2 separate regions of the Homo sapiens genome follow, and region 2 is linked to region 1. Evidence: promoter capture Hi-C in 16 types of primary human blood cells and fetal thymus (Javierre and others, 2016). All regions are on one chromosome and are shown on one strand. The core of a region is centred on a gene start or on the middle of the fragment in contact, and the rest is flanking DNA. Distances in the headings are between cores, read along the strand shown. Region 1 holds the start of EIF1 (eukaryotic translation initiation factor 1). Region 2 overlaps LOC105371777 (a long non-coding RNA gene).

Region 1 (6,925 bases), core at 531-3,030:
ACAATGGTTCAACAGAGGGTCCTCAGTTAAGAGCTACCTTTTTTGAACACTCAGTGCCTTCCAAGGTTCTGAATTAGTGTGAGAATGAGACTCATCAGGTATCTGAAATCTCTTCAATTATATCAAGAGCTGATCATGTAACAGTATTTTAGTATTAATACTCAGGAAATTCATTTTTAAAAACTCATGTCCTTACAAATACAGGAACAACCCAGCATTTGGCTTATTTTACAATGCATCTATATGCTATTCAAATTTGCATCTGTGAAGTAGATCCACAGAAACAGTAAACCAAAGGTAGACAAGTCCCTTCTGCTTTTTCCTATAAAACAGAAATAAGTCTATGTACTTTAAAACCCAACTGAGGTTTTGCTCAGCCTTACAAAGCCAACTTTTATGTCCCCAGCAGAAGCTAACAGACAGGATCTGAGATTTGCCAGCAGAGAGGCACAAATCAAGTAGTGACTGAACTCACCTCTACGAGGAACTGGCATATGTTCTTGCGTTGGTCACCCTGTAGCTGAATTACTTCTCCATATTCCGGATGCTCAATTACAGTACCATTGCAGGCAAACTTCTGCAAGCACAAAGGAAAACGAATTAGGCCTAGCAAGAGCATGAACGCATTTATCACCCCTTCCGCTAACAATACATACAACACAGCTGGCACCCCCTTGTGGACAAATCCATTATGACTTTCCCAAAATCTCACTGAAGACCTACTTTCTTAAACGCCTTCACTAGTTTCTTTTTATCGTAATCATCAGCGATCCCTTGGACAGTAGTAAGGGTCTTCCTGCCGTTTCTCTGTTGAATTCTTATATGGATATAATCCTCAGTGCCAGCAGGAAGCAGGTCATCACCCTTACTTGCATCAGCAAAGGGGTCTGAAAAAAAAGGTTAAGCTCGTTCAGAGCTGTCAAAGATAGGATGCCACTGCCATCCCCTCGGTCCCCAGGTGTTTTGCGCGTGCAGAAAACAACACTGAAATCGTCAGGGCTTGGGCCAGGCCGAATGTGTCCTTTGCTGGCTCTCCCCGAGCAGGTCAGTCCGGGACGGCCAGCTTCCCCAGGCTCGGGGAACGCCCGGGCCTCCCGCCCTCCCTGGGAAGCCGATCACATGTCGGGGGAGTCCGGGCTGCCAGGCGGTGCCCCACCCAGCTGATGCAACCCGCCGGAACCCGAGCTCCCGAGGCGGGGCTAAGCCTCCCACCCCCATTGGTGCACCCGCTTGCCACTTAGGGCTGGCACCGCCTTTCCCTCCGGATCCGTGACAACGGGTGGTGACGTAACGGACGTGACGCAATGGTGACGGGAGGGGCGGGTGTGGCCCGAGGAGGCCCAGGAGCCATTAGTAAATGCGCCACTGAGACGCCGGGCCCGCCCAAGGGCTGACCTACCGCCTGCTCCTTCCGGTCGCGCTCAGGGTCCGACCCCGGGGCCCAGGCCTTGATCCCGCTGCCCTGCGACCCTGGTCAAGTTTCCCCTGCCCGAGCTTACGAAGGCCCGGAGCGCTTGGCAACTTCCCGGAACACGTCTCCGGGCCCGGAAGGCCCCGCTGCCCCACCCGGGCCCGCGACCTTTCCCATAGCTTACCGAAAGAGTGGAGGTTCTGGATAGCGGACATACGATACGATTCCTTTTCCTCGGTGGAAACGGCCTGCGGAAGGCGGCGGCGGCGGTGGCGGGAGAAGGCGGGCAGGGGGGAACGGAACGTCGGGAAGCGAGGGGGCTCAAGGGGGAGGCTGCTGAATCCTCGGCGGCGGCTCAGTGACTGGGGCAGAGGGGCGGTGCCTGTGTTTAGTTATATAGCCGCGCCTCTGACGCCAGCGCGCTGCCCTCACGTCCTGACCCCACCCACAGCGTCGTGCCCCAAGCGCCCAGGCGGCGCCGCTTCCAATTGGTTTGGAGGCGGGGACATGGGATGGCGCTTGCGCAGGAAGTCTGCGGCAGGAGGGCGTCCTCTTGACTCTAGGAGAGCTGGGAGGGGGAGGGAAAGCTTGATCTGTCTCGGAGCCTGCGCAGTGCGAGTGGACGGTGTCTGGGTGCCGAGAATACCGGCCCAGGTTTCGAGCGCGCCTACGCACTGTGTCCTTTGGTACGTTCCACCTTCTTGACCCTGTTGCATCCCTGTCTTCTCGAAAAGGGGAGTTTCATATGGTAAATGAACACTCCTTAGAGAGGATTTAGATGATGAGCCTCCCAAACACGAGAAATCCCCGTTGTGTCAAACCCACCTACCTACCCACCCTACTACCCACGGAGTCACAGCGGGATTTAGGGCGGCACTTTGATTAATCAACATACAATAATATAATCAAAACGGTAACCGCATAATTTAGATTGCCATTTAGATTTATTCTAAAGTGGGTTAATCCGATCTAAAATTTTCATTTAGATTAGATTAATCCATCTAAGGAAAAAGTGTGCCCAGCTCATTGGCATGAGTTCAAGGTATAGTAACTGGTTCTGGGCCCCCCCGAGAATAATTCTGGCACCAGAGGGCGTCCTTCATGTGGCACAGCTTGTGTGGAGTAGAGCCTTCCTAGAGTTTAGATGAAATATTTCCTTCAAAACAGTCAACCTTTCTTGCTTTCAGTTTATTTATTTCAACACTCAGTTGTAGGGGTAAGTAGAGTGGTGAAAAGAGACCAGGAATTTTAGACTCAAAGGCCTCCGGGGATAGGCAGGTAAGTAGGATCAAGGAGTGCAAACAGCCAAGTGTGATGTAATGGGGTGGACTGGGGGCTGGAGTAAGAACTACGGGCTGCAGTGGCCGCTCACCTCCAGCCCATTGTGCTAGATCTTTTTCAAGAGTGCCAGGAAATCCAGGTGTTTACATAAAATCTCTTGATTTTTAAATATTGCCAATAAATTGATTTTTTTTTTGAGACAGAGTCTCACTTTGTCGCCGAGGCTGGAGTGCAGTGGCACTGTGTCGGCTCACTGTAACCTCCGTCTCCTGGGTTCAAGCAATTCTTCTGCCTCAGCCTCCCGAGTAGTTGGGGTTACAGGCATCCACCACCACGCCCGGCTAGTTTTTTAAAAATATTTTTAGTAGAGATGGGTTTTCACCATGTTGGCCAGGCTGGTCTTGAACTCCTGACCTCAGGTGATCTGCCTGCCTCGGCCTTCCAAAGTGCTGGGATTACAGGAATAAATTGAATTTTTGATACAACACTGCAAGCCAAACAAAAATATGCATGCCCATGGACTGCTGGTTTATGTCCCTGACAGTCAGGGTCACTGCCCTTGTGGAGTTGAAGGCCAGCGGGAGAGAGAGCCACTAAACAAATAATAAGATAATGAGGCTGGGCGCTGTGGCTTATGCCTGTAATCCCAGCACTTTGGGAGGCTGAGGTGGGCGGATCACCCGAGGTCAGGAGTTCGAGACCAGCCTGGCCAATATGGTGAAACCCTGTCTCTACTAAAAATACAAAAATTAGCTGGGCGTGGTGGCGTGTGCCTGTAGTCCCAGCTACTCGGGAGGCCGAGGCACAATAATTATTTGAACCCGGGAAGAGGAGACTGCAGTGAGCCAAGATGGCGCCATTGCACTCCAGCCTGGGCGACAGAGCAAGACTATGTCTCAAAAAAAAAAAAAAAAGGATAATGACAGATTGTGAGAGGTGCCAAAAAGGAGGTAAACAGGGTGATGTGAAAGGGCCAGGCTCCTTCAGATGGGGTGGTCAGAGAAGGCCTCTGGGGAGGCAGCATTCTGGCTGACAGAGGGTAGGAAGGAGTCCACTGTGGGGCAGGGCATGTGCCCACCAGAAAACTCAGAAAAACTCTGAGGGAGGAAATGCTAGGTGTACCTGATATATATATGTGTATGTGTGTGTATATATATATATATGTATATGAGTGTGTGTATATATGTGTGTGTGTGTATTTGTGTATATATGTATATATATATGTATGTGTATATATATATATATATAGACAAGGTCTCACTCTGTCACCCAGACTGGCTGGAATGCAGTGGCATGATCATGGCTTACTGCAGCCTCAACTGCTTAAAGCAGTCCCCCTGCCTTGGCCTCCTAAAGTGCTGGGATTACAGGCAGGAGCCAGTGTGCCTGGCCTGATACTTTGTTTTGATTCTATATTTACTAAATAAACTTGATTAATAGTTTGGTTTCCTTGACATCAGGAAGGAGGAACCATGGCTAGGTCATGGGCATCCCAGTCTCATGGTCTTCCCCTTTTGAGAAGCTAAGGCCCCAGTCAGCCAACTTGGGAACCTTTACTATCAGGCAAAATTCACCCCCGACATTTCACGTAGGTTCTTCTCTATTTTCCTTAAGTGTTGGCTGGTCCGAGAAATAAAGGGACAGAGTACAAAAGAGAGAAATTTTAAAGCTGGGTGTCCGGGGGAGACATCACATGTCGGCAGGTTCCATGATGTCCCCCAAGCCGCAAAACCAGCGAGTTTTTATTAGTGATTTTCAAAAGGGGAGGGAGTGTACGAATAGGGTGTGGGTCACAGAGATCATGTGCTTCACAAGGTAATAAGATATCACAAGGCAAATGGAGGCAGGGCAAGACCACAGGACCACAGGACCGGGGCGAAATTAAAATTGCTAATGAAGTTTCAGACACACATTGTCATTGATGATATCTTATCAGGAGACAGGGTTTGAGAACAGACAACCGGTCTGACCAAAATTTATTAGGCGGGAATTTCCTCGTCCTAATAAGCCTGGGAGCGCTACAGGAGACCGGGGCTTATTTCATCCCTCAGCGATGACCGTAAAAGACAGCTGTCCCCAAAGTGGCCATTTCAGAGGCCTCCCTCAGGGACGCATCCTCTTTCTCAGGGATGTTCCTTGCTGAGAAAAAGAATTCAGCGATATTTCTCCCATTTGCTTTTGAAAGAAGAGAAATATGGCTCTGTTCTGCCCGGCTCACGGGCAGTCAGAGTTTAAAGTTATCTCCTTTGTTCCCTGAACATTGCTGTTATCCTGTTCTTTTTTCAAGGTGCCCAGATTTCATATTGTTCAAACACACAAGCTCTACAAACAATTTGTGCAGTTAATGCAATCATCACGGTCCTGAGGCTACATACATCCTCCTCAGCTTATGATGACAGGATTAAGAGATTAAAGTAAAGACAGGCATAGGAAATCCCAAGGGTATTGATTGGGGAAGTGATAAGTGTCCATGAAATCTTCACAATTTATGTTCAGAGATTGCAGTAAAGACAGGCGTAAGAAATTATAAAAGTATTAATTTGGGGAACTAATAAATATCCATTAAATCTTCACAATTTATGTTCTTCTGCCATGGCTTCAGCGGGTCCCTCTGTTGGGAGTCCCTGACATCCCACAACACTTTGCCCTGACGGACATTGTTCTGCTGGAAAGGGTTTTGGGAGAGAGTTTGAATGAATGAATTGGAGCTGTCCTTCCCAGTGTGCATGCAATATTTTGTCACACTAAAATATTTTTTGAGACAGAATCTCGCTTTGTCGTCCAGGCTGTAGTGAAGTGGTGCGATCTTGGCTCACCACAGCTTTCACCTCCTGAGTTCAAGCTATGCTTCTGCCTCAGCCTCCCAAGTAACTGAGATTACGGGCAGGTGCCACCATGCCCAGCTAATTTTTGTATTTTGGGTAGAGAAGGGGTTTTACAACATTGCCCAGGCTGGTCTTGAACTCCTGACCTCAAATGATCCGCCCGCCTTGGCCTCCCAAAGTGCTGGGATTACAGGTGTGAGCCACAACACCCGGCCAAGACTCAGTTCTTTTTTTTTTTTTTTTTTTGAGACAGGGTCTGGCTTTGTCACTTAGGCTGGAGTGCAATGGTGCCATTATAGCTTATTGCAGACTTGAACTCCTAGGCTCAAGTGATCCGTTTCAGCCTCCTGAGTAGCTGGGACTACAGGCATGTGCTACCATAGCCAGCTAATTTTTTAAATTTTTGGTAGAGATGAGGTCTCACTATGTTGCCCAGGCTGGTCTTGAACTGCTAGGCTCAAGTAATCCTTTACCTCGGCCTCCCAAAGTGCTGGGATTACAAGCATGAGCCACCGCACCAGGCCTGAGACTCAGTTCTTGACTTGCCACCAGCTTTGTGGGTGACCTGGTTTACCTCTTGGCTTCAGTTGTATGCCCCATAAAAGGAGCACTGGGTGATCTCTTCCTGGGTCTGAAGTCTGAAGCGCTGTTTTCCCAAGTTGGGAGCATTTCCAGAAGGGTCTTCCGAAGTCTACCTTCCAGTGTGGGAGGTTACCCCAGCCCCAGGAGCCTGAGGAGTAATCATGGAGGCAGGAGTAATTAGTTTGAAAGTGGCATGCATGCCTGCTGTTAATGCTGGCTTCTTTATTAGTGTGCTCCTGGCTTTGAGATGCTGTCACCTGGGCAGCCAAGGGCAGGGTACAAAGCACAGGCTCTGGAGTGTCTGTATCTGAATATCATCTCCATCTTGTTGCCTGGGCGACTTAGCCCCTCCCAGCCTGCATTTTCTCCTCTGTACGACAGAGACAATAATGCCCTTCTCATAGGCTGTTGAGGGGATTTAAAGAGGAGACTATGTACAGCCGGATAAAAATGTAAAGTTATGAAACCACTATATAGATTATACCAGTTTCCCAGAGGGGAAGGGAGAGAGAGAGCCTCCGAGAGCAGCAGGGGACAGGAGTGAGCCCCTCTGAATGAGGATGGGACAGAGGTGGGCACCTCTCCATGGTGATCTCCTTGGGATGTGACAAGGGCATGGCTGTGTAGGACACCTTGGGACCCTCGACCTCAATAAGATTCTCCAAGGCCACCAACGTGGCACGGAAGCAGCAGAATCTCCCTCCAGGAAGGGATTGCACCCTCTGGGAAAATAGACATCTCCATGGTAACCAAGGCAGATAGATGATCTGGTCTAGGGGCTCCTTGTAGCTCTGGTGCTCTAGAAAACCTTGTGAGCGAGAGAGAA
Region 2 (7,083 bases), core at 4,089-6,588, 780 kb after region 1:
GAGAAAAGCAAAGGTCTACCCTCTTCAGAGATGGTAAAGAGTAAAGCCATTGCACATGATGTTCACAGCTCTCCTCTCTGCTCCTTCCCAAGTGGGACCAAGCAGTGTAGCTCCAACCTGAAGTCAGGGCATCCCCTGCTCCTCACTTAAGCATGCTGGGATGCCCAAGGAAATTCTTTTTCTTCTCGTTGAGTTTCAATTCCTTTTGACTCTCTTTTAGTTCCTCATTCCAGGGACATTAACAATTTCTCTACAAATATTTATGCCTCCAATACCACACAAACCAACAGTTTCACTGAAAGGAGATCTCTTTTCAACATAGTTAAGCAATGTTCTCCCTCACCAAGAAACTATAAGTCATTTACAAATTAAGGTGATCATAATTATTACGTAGCTTCTAGTCATAATATTTAAAAGTCATTAAGAGTATAATTCATTTATTCTAGCCATGATTATTCACAATGCTATACTCTAAATGCTATACTTTTCTACAGCTTTTAATCAATAAATACTTTTCAGATTTTTGGTGTTTACATATCACCTGAAGTATTTTGTTGGTTATTTCCCTATGGTAACAACATTGGTTTTCCGAATGACTATAGGCCTACTTTCATTCCCATGTGTGACTCATTCCCATCTCATCTATTCTATTACAACATCTACGTGTCACCATCTCTCTGAAGAGAGTTAGAGAGTTTCTAAAATATACTGGAGGTGAGATCATGCAAAAAGGAAAAGACAGTGCTTCTCACATACCTAACGATCTGATGATCTAATCATACTCAGAAGTTTTACCTTGAACTTTGTGTGTGTGTGTAACTATTTCAGTACATGGGTTGTCCTACTCACCCAAACTTCCCATTGAAATTTAAATGGGAATTCATCTAATAAAATTATGAGTCATCTAATAGAAACTACAAGTCAATTTTTGCTAATTCCATGGTATGCATACGCAGCATAGCATGTATGCATTGACATACACACACATGTACCAGAAGTTTTTTAAATAACAACTATCCTTGACTGAGCTTTACATTCACAATCTCATTTAACATTTATCAAAACCTTGTGGCATATCATTATCTTTATTTTATGATTGGGGAAACTGAGGCTCAAATGGACTGCATTAACTTGCCTGTGGTCATACAGCTATAAAATGGTGGAAACAGAATTTGTACCCAGTATATTTACTCTTTGTGCCACACAAGTCAAAAGTGCTTGCTAGAGAGTTATGTAAAATCTGAATATGGGCAACACATTTTGATGAGCCCTTGCTGATGGCTTTTATCTAAGGTAAGAGCCCAGGTATGAGAAATCTGGATTTTCTATTTGAAAATCAGAACTCATATTTTTCAGAGGCAATTGGTAGTTTGACATCATTTACCTGGATCTTGTTCTGACAAGATCCATGAGTCAGAAATAGACACTCAGGACCAGAGGACAGGTTTTTATAACCAAAAGCTACCTTCTCATTAATCAAACCTCAAAGCATCCACTGCTTTCATACAGAGGTGTGTTCTTAACTTGTTTTAGCCTAAAACGAATCAGCATCAGGGACGATGATTGCTTCCCTGAGAGAGTTTAGCAAGTTCCAAACCTGGAGGACCTCAGACCCCAACCTGTCCAGTTAGACTCCACACTCACTCCTGTTTTCTATCAAAATTTTCTTTCCCCACACACTCACAGAATATGATAGGACAAGAAAGACAAAGACAGGGTAGTAATAATGGACAGGCCACAGATACACCCAATACCATCAACAGTCATCAGCTGAGAATATTTTATCCAGAGATTCATCACAAAAAAAATATTGTGAAAATGTTCATGTATCATCCCCAGCACCCTAGGAAGCAGTAGTTTCAGGTCACCACCCAGTCCCAAGCCTTATATGTCAGTGCTTCCGAAATCTTAATGTGCATACTTATCATATGGGGATCTTGTTAAAATGCAGATTCTGATCTAATTGTTCTGGGTTGAGGCCCAAGATTTTGGACATCTAACAAGCTCCCAGAGGATGCTAAGGCTGCTGATCCACGAGTCGCAAGATTATGGGTGATTTTGATCAATTAGCAATTCGATGCATTCCCCACAGTGAGTGTCGTGTCTATAAACCAGTCTCAATAGGTCCTCTATCAACTGAACAGGATAAACAACACAGCAGGAAAGGTGGCATCGTTAGAATCCCACTAGCACAGTCTTGCTCCAAGCAAGCTAAACCTGCAAGAGCACTAAGTCAGGCCTGGAAGGAAGATGTTTCTTAGGTTCTCACCAAGAACAGAAGACAGAATGAAGTCTAGAAATTAAGATCGATCACTTTGTCCCAAATTTTTCCTGGACTCCATGCGTAGTAAAAGCTATGAGAGGTTCACAAATCAGATTCACAGGAGAGGATGGAAAACACTTGTCCAGGATTGTCTATTGTGTTAGCTAACTAGCACTAAAAAATATACGTCTATATTTATGTATAAGTGAGTATTCACTTATAAAAATCTTTCTAAATTCTCTTCAAGGGCCATTTCTTTCTTCAGTGAACCAAATGATGGCTGAAGTTTTAAGAATAAAAACAACAGCCAGACGCAGTGGCTCATGCCTGTAATCCCAGCACTTTGGGAGGCCGAGGCGGGTGGATCACGAGGTCAGGAGATGGAGACCATCCAGGCTAACCCGGTGAAACCCCGTCTCTACTAAAAATACAAAAAATTAGCCAGGCATGGTGGCGGGTGCCTGTAGTCCCAGCTATTCGGGAGGCTGAGGCAGGAGAGTGGCGTGAACCCGGGAGGCGGAGCTTGCAGTGAGCCGAGATTGCGCCACTGCACTCCAGCCTGGGCGACAGAGAGAGACTCCATCTGAAAAAAAAAAAATAATAAAAAAAAATAAACAACAATAACTCTAACTGTGAAATTGCGTCCTATTCCATACTAAATTAAATCAGCTTAGACAGGCTGCTTTCATTTGTGTTATGGATGTCATTATTCTTTGTTTTCAAGAAATTTGTATTGGAATGAATGGAGTTGGAATAAAGAACCAGTGAAGAAGTGGTCATTAAATACCTGCTTCCTGCCTACTGCGGTGTGAGTCACTATTAGGAAGACAAAATAAGGAAGCTAGAACTTTAGGGAAGGAAATTACAATATACAAAAGAGTCCCTTTGCCCAACTGCAATTCCTGTCACCCATAATCATGGTAAATAATCCTAATAATTATTACCCTTGCTTGTATCATGATAAGGAAATTGATTTGAACTGGGAAACAGAAAACATGTCTCTTCAGTAAAGCTCTTTCCACCCTCCCACACTCAACAAAAGCTTCATAAAGCCACCCGTAACTCTTATGCCCCGTTCCACCGAGTCAACTCCTGTGACTGGCCTCACACCCTTCTCAAGTATCCAAGGCCTTCCCCGGTATGGTCTCAGCTTGTTTTTCCAGAGGGCGGCCGTCATTACCTGAATGGCAGGTTTGCTACGCAAGCGCCTTAATGTGGGGCTTTGTAGACATCACACCTGGGCCGTCATTAGTGTCGTCTGAAAATAATAATCAGCCAGCAGACCAAAGAAGGGCATTCCAAGAAAATTCACTACTACCAGTGTTTGGGGAAACCAGGGAATATCTAATTTACGTATTTATAGTTAATCAAAGAAAGGGCTAACTTACACACATCACACAAGGATAAGTCACCCCAACGTTTATTTATAACTACACCTGGCTACAGTGCTAAGAGTTGGGGGAGGCTGCGCACTTGTAGTTGGCAGCCCTGAGGAAGGAGGTAGCATCTCTAATCATTCCCAAATGGACAGGAGGCTGAGCCAGTGGTAGGAGAGCTTACTGTGGGAACATGGCTTTTTATATTTCTCTCTCAGTCTCCTATTCTCCTCCTACAATGTTAGGTGCTTGGAAGTTTCCAGAAGAGGCCTTTCTACAGGAGACAAGGCATTCTCTGTCTCTCTCCTCTGTCCACACCTCAAGTGTGGATCCACCAAAGGTCAATAGGGCCCTAGGGAGGAGATGACAGCATGCAAGACTGCCCTCTTCCACCCATCCACACTGTCTCTCAGTCAGCCAGATATCAGAGTGGCCAAGACCAGGCTCTGTCTTAGACCACACTGTGGCTGTCTTAGCACAGCAGATATCCACAGCCGGACCCTCCCCATCACATGAAGCAGAAGGAAGAAATAAGTCCCCTTGTGACAAGCACTTGCCTGCTATATGTTTTTACAGCAAACAAAGGTTAAAACTACATCCTTCAGAGAGGAACCACTGAGTCTTCAGGCGACTGGAGAAGGGGAGCTGGGAGCCTGCACCTCTGAGCAAGCCAGAGACCCATGCTAGGGGGTCAGAGATTGAGCAGGCTGGGCAAGAGGAACCCAGACCCCTGCAGGTAGGGATCATGGTGGGTAGAGTCTGGGGCTGGGAATTCAAGGCTTTGATCTATTTCCAGTATCTTTGTCTTCATAGTATCTGATCCTCCCCGTTTTGCCCCACCAGACGTGAGTAAGGAGGAGAATTCATAGCCAACTCCAATAATTCTTTATAATAAAACTTTATAAGTGGTATCTGCTACTCTTTATTTATTTATTTATTTGTTTGTTTGAGACAGAGTTTCGCTCTGTCGCCAGGCTGGAGTGCAGTGTCACGATCTCGGCTCGCTGCAACCTCTGCCTCCCAGGTTCAAGCAATTCTCCTGCCTCAGCCTCCCGAGTAGCTGGGACTACAGGCACATGACACCATGCCTAGCTAATTTTTGTATCTTTAGTAGAGACGGGGTTTCACCACGTAGGCCAGGATGGTCTCGATCTCTTGACCCCGTGATCCGCCCGCCTCGGCCTCCCAAAGTGTTGGGATTACAGCCGTGAAACGTCGCGCCCCGCCTGTGCTACTCTTAAAGGATCCAAAGGATATCTAGAAGGGATTCACGTGCTCGTTTGGGTCCCACAGTACATCGAGGTTTGGGAGCCTCTCAGATATTTGCTTCCTGTCCTCAATTTTGTTTGGGTGCCTCCAGTAACCTCTGATATTTATATAAAACTATCTCACTGTAAAAGGGGCAAAGACCTAGTCTTCTGCCTCCAGGGCTTCTCCTGTGGTCATTTCTCATGTCCTCGCCATTGTGTCAGCCCCAGCTAAATGTTTCTTCTACAGGAGGAAAGGGAGCATGTAACCTCTTGCTCTCAAAAATGGAGAGGGGAAGAAAAAGTTTAAGATGGGTAAAGAGAGACTAAAACTGCAGGCAGCCGTCTTGTTTTCTCAGTCTCCCCTAAACCCACTCCAAGCTGGACGAAACCATCTGTTCACAGAAAAAGTACAAAGGAAAGAAGGGTTTGAGAATGTCAGGTAGTAGACAAAAAAGTTTCAGTTCCTACCCTTACAATGATCCCTTCTCTAAGAGCTGGCTCCCTTTACAAGACAACTCGTCAGAGTTTATTTCTGTACTGGCATTTATGTCTTCAAGGCATCCAAGTATCTTGTGGATCTTTCAACAGATCAAAAGGCAGAAAGAAAAATGTTCTTGGATCAACTCCTAGAAAAATCTGAAACCAGATTTTCCTGAGATATTTCAGGCCAGTCAGTGCCTGTCAGCTTTATACTGTGGCATCTTTCTTTTCAAATATGGATTAAACCCTGCGATGAATGAAAAGATTAAAAGCTCATCATTCCAGCAGCCTTAGTTTCTAAATTGTTGTGCTATCTCCTTAAAAACTTCTGTGCATTTGTATCACGCTGTCTGCTCTTCGGGGCCACTGCTTGTGTTGCAGGGAAGACACAAAGCATGAGAGTTCCGAGCAGTGGGCAAAGATGCTTGTCAAGAGTGTTATAAGGGGGACCAGGCATTGGGAAAGGAGTTGAACCTGAGGGACTTTCAGATTCGATTATTTTCCTCTTAATCGGAGAAGAGTTTGAGTTTATAAACAACATAAAATAACAGATATATGGAAGATACTGACGTTTTGGAGGGCTATCAATAAGATAGGGCGTGGCCAAATTACAAATAAAGTTTATTAGGACACAGTCATGAACGTTTGTTTGCATATTGTCTACAGCTGCTCTTGCACAAGGACAGCAGAGTTGAGTAGTTGCAACAGTCTCTCCAGCCCACACAGCCTAAATATTTATGACCTGGCCTCTACAGAAAAGAAAAAAAAAAAGTCCATCCCGTACTATAGATATTAGAGCAGGAGAAAATGAGTTGAAATTACAGCAGAACAGTCAGGCCTATCTCTGTCAATATCTCTGACAATTGAAGGGGGCAGGCTATTAAATCTAAAGTTGAGAGGGCCTTGGCCCCTTCGCATGCTATTAAAGATGACTGTGGGTCATTTCAAAAACACCTGGATGGTTTAGAATAGGTGCAATCATTTAAAAGATTGAAAAGCATCTGCTTTTCCCCCAGGTAATTCATGTTTAGGGAACAAGTTAAAAATAGAAGATATATTTTGCTTTTCACTTTTAAAATTGTATAGCTTCCCAAATATTTTTCAAGATAATTGGTCAGCTGTTGCTCACTCAGAAGTAATGCTGTTCTTGGTAAAATGCCAATTTGAACAGAGAAAGAAGGATGGTAATGGTGACTCACAAACCAGTTTCACCCGGAGCCTGGGAGAGGGTGCTGCGGCCTTTTGGAATAGGAAGGCCACGAACACCCCCTGCTGGCTATAGGGCAACATAAACCCGAACTCATCCTTTTTCCTGATCCAAGGCTCGGGTTGGACAAAGATCAACCATACAAGTCCTGTGATGGAATCAAGGAATATCAAACATTCATAATTCATGCCCAAGGGATGGTAGCATCTTGAAATTCAAGTAGTTTGTGTTACATGTACAGCAGCAAAGAACCACTACTAAAACAAGAGATAACCAGGTTTTCAATTATCTCCCTTAAACCTCCTAACCCCATTTAAAAAAAAGTTTTACACTACAGCCTTCTACATCTCATTAAACACAATTCCTGTAACAATGAAAAAAGAACTTTCTTCATCGTTTGAAACAGATCCTAGCCAAGGGTCTTGTTCAAAATAGTTTTAATCATATGAAATTGCCAGGATCCTACTCTGCTGACCCCTACAAAAGGCAACCTGAATAGAATTAGTC

Evidence for each region. Contacts are between HindIII fragments. The CHiCAGO score rates a contact against its expected background, and 5 or more counts as called.
Region 2: a contact is called between a fragment that was not itself captured here and the fragment with the promoter of EIF1 in region 1, in 5 of 17 cell types (activated CD4 T cells, non-activated CD4 T cells, naive CD8 T cells and 2 more). The highest score is 10.5, in activated CD4 T cells.

What each region holds. Positions count from the first base shown.
Region 1 is chr17:41,683,740-41,690,664 of GRCh38, reverse strand. EIF1 (eukaryotic translation initiation factor 1) reads right to left here and starts at 1,780. Exons shown (of 4, transcript NM_005801.4): 1 at 1,596-1,780; 2 at 724-887; 3 at 476-577. The coding sequence starts at 1,626. RefSeq lists enhancers at 262-1,170, 1,096-1,185, 1,171-2,079 and a silencer at 1,566-1,955. The HindIII fragment of the contact is 2,180 bases long and covers 1-2,000 here.
Region 2 is chr17:40,909,020-40,916,102 of GRCh38, reverse strand. All of the region lies in intron 1 of LOC105371777 (a long non-coding RNA gene), which reads right to left. Among named protein-coding and RNA genes, the nearest start is that of KRT23, 25 kb to the left of the region's middle. The HindIII fragment of the contact is 4,061 bases long and covers 3,308-7,083 here.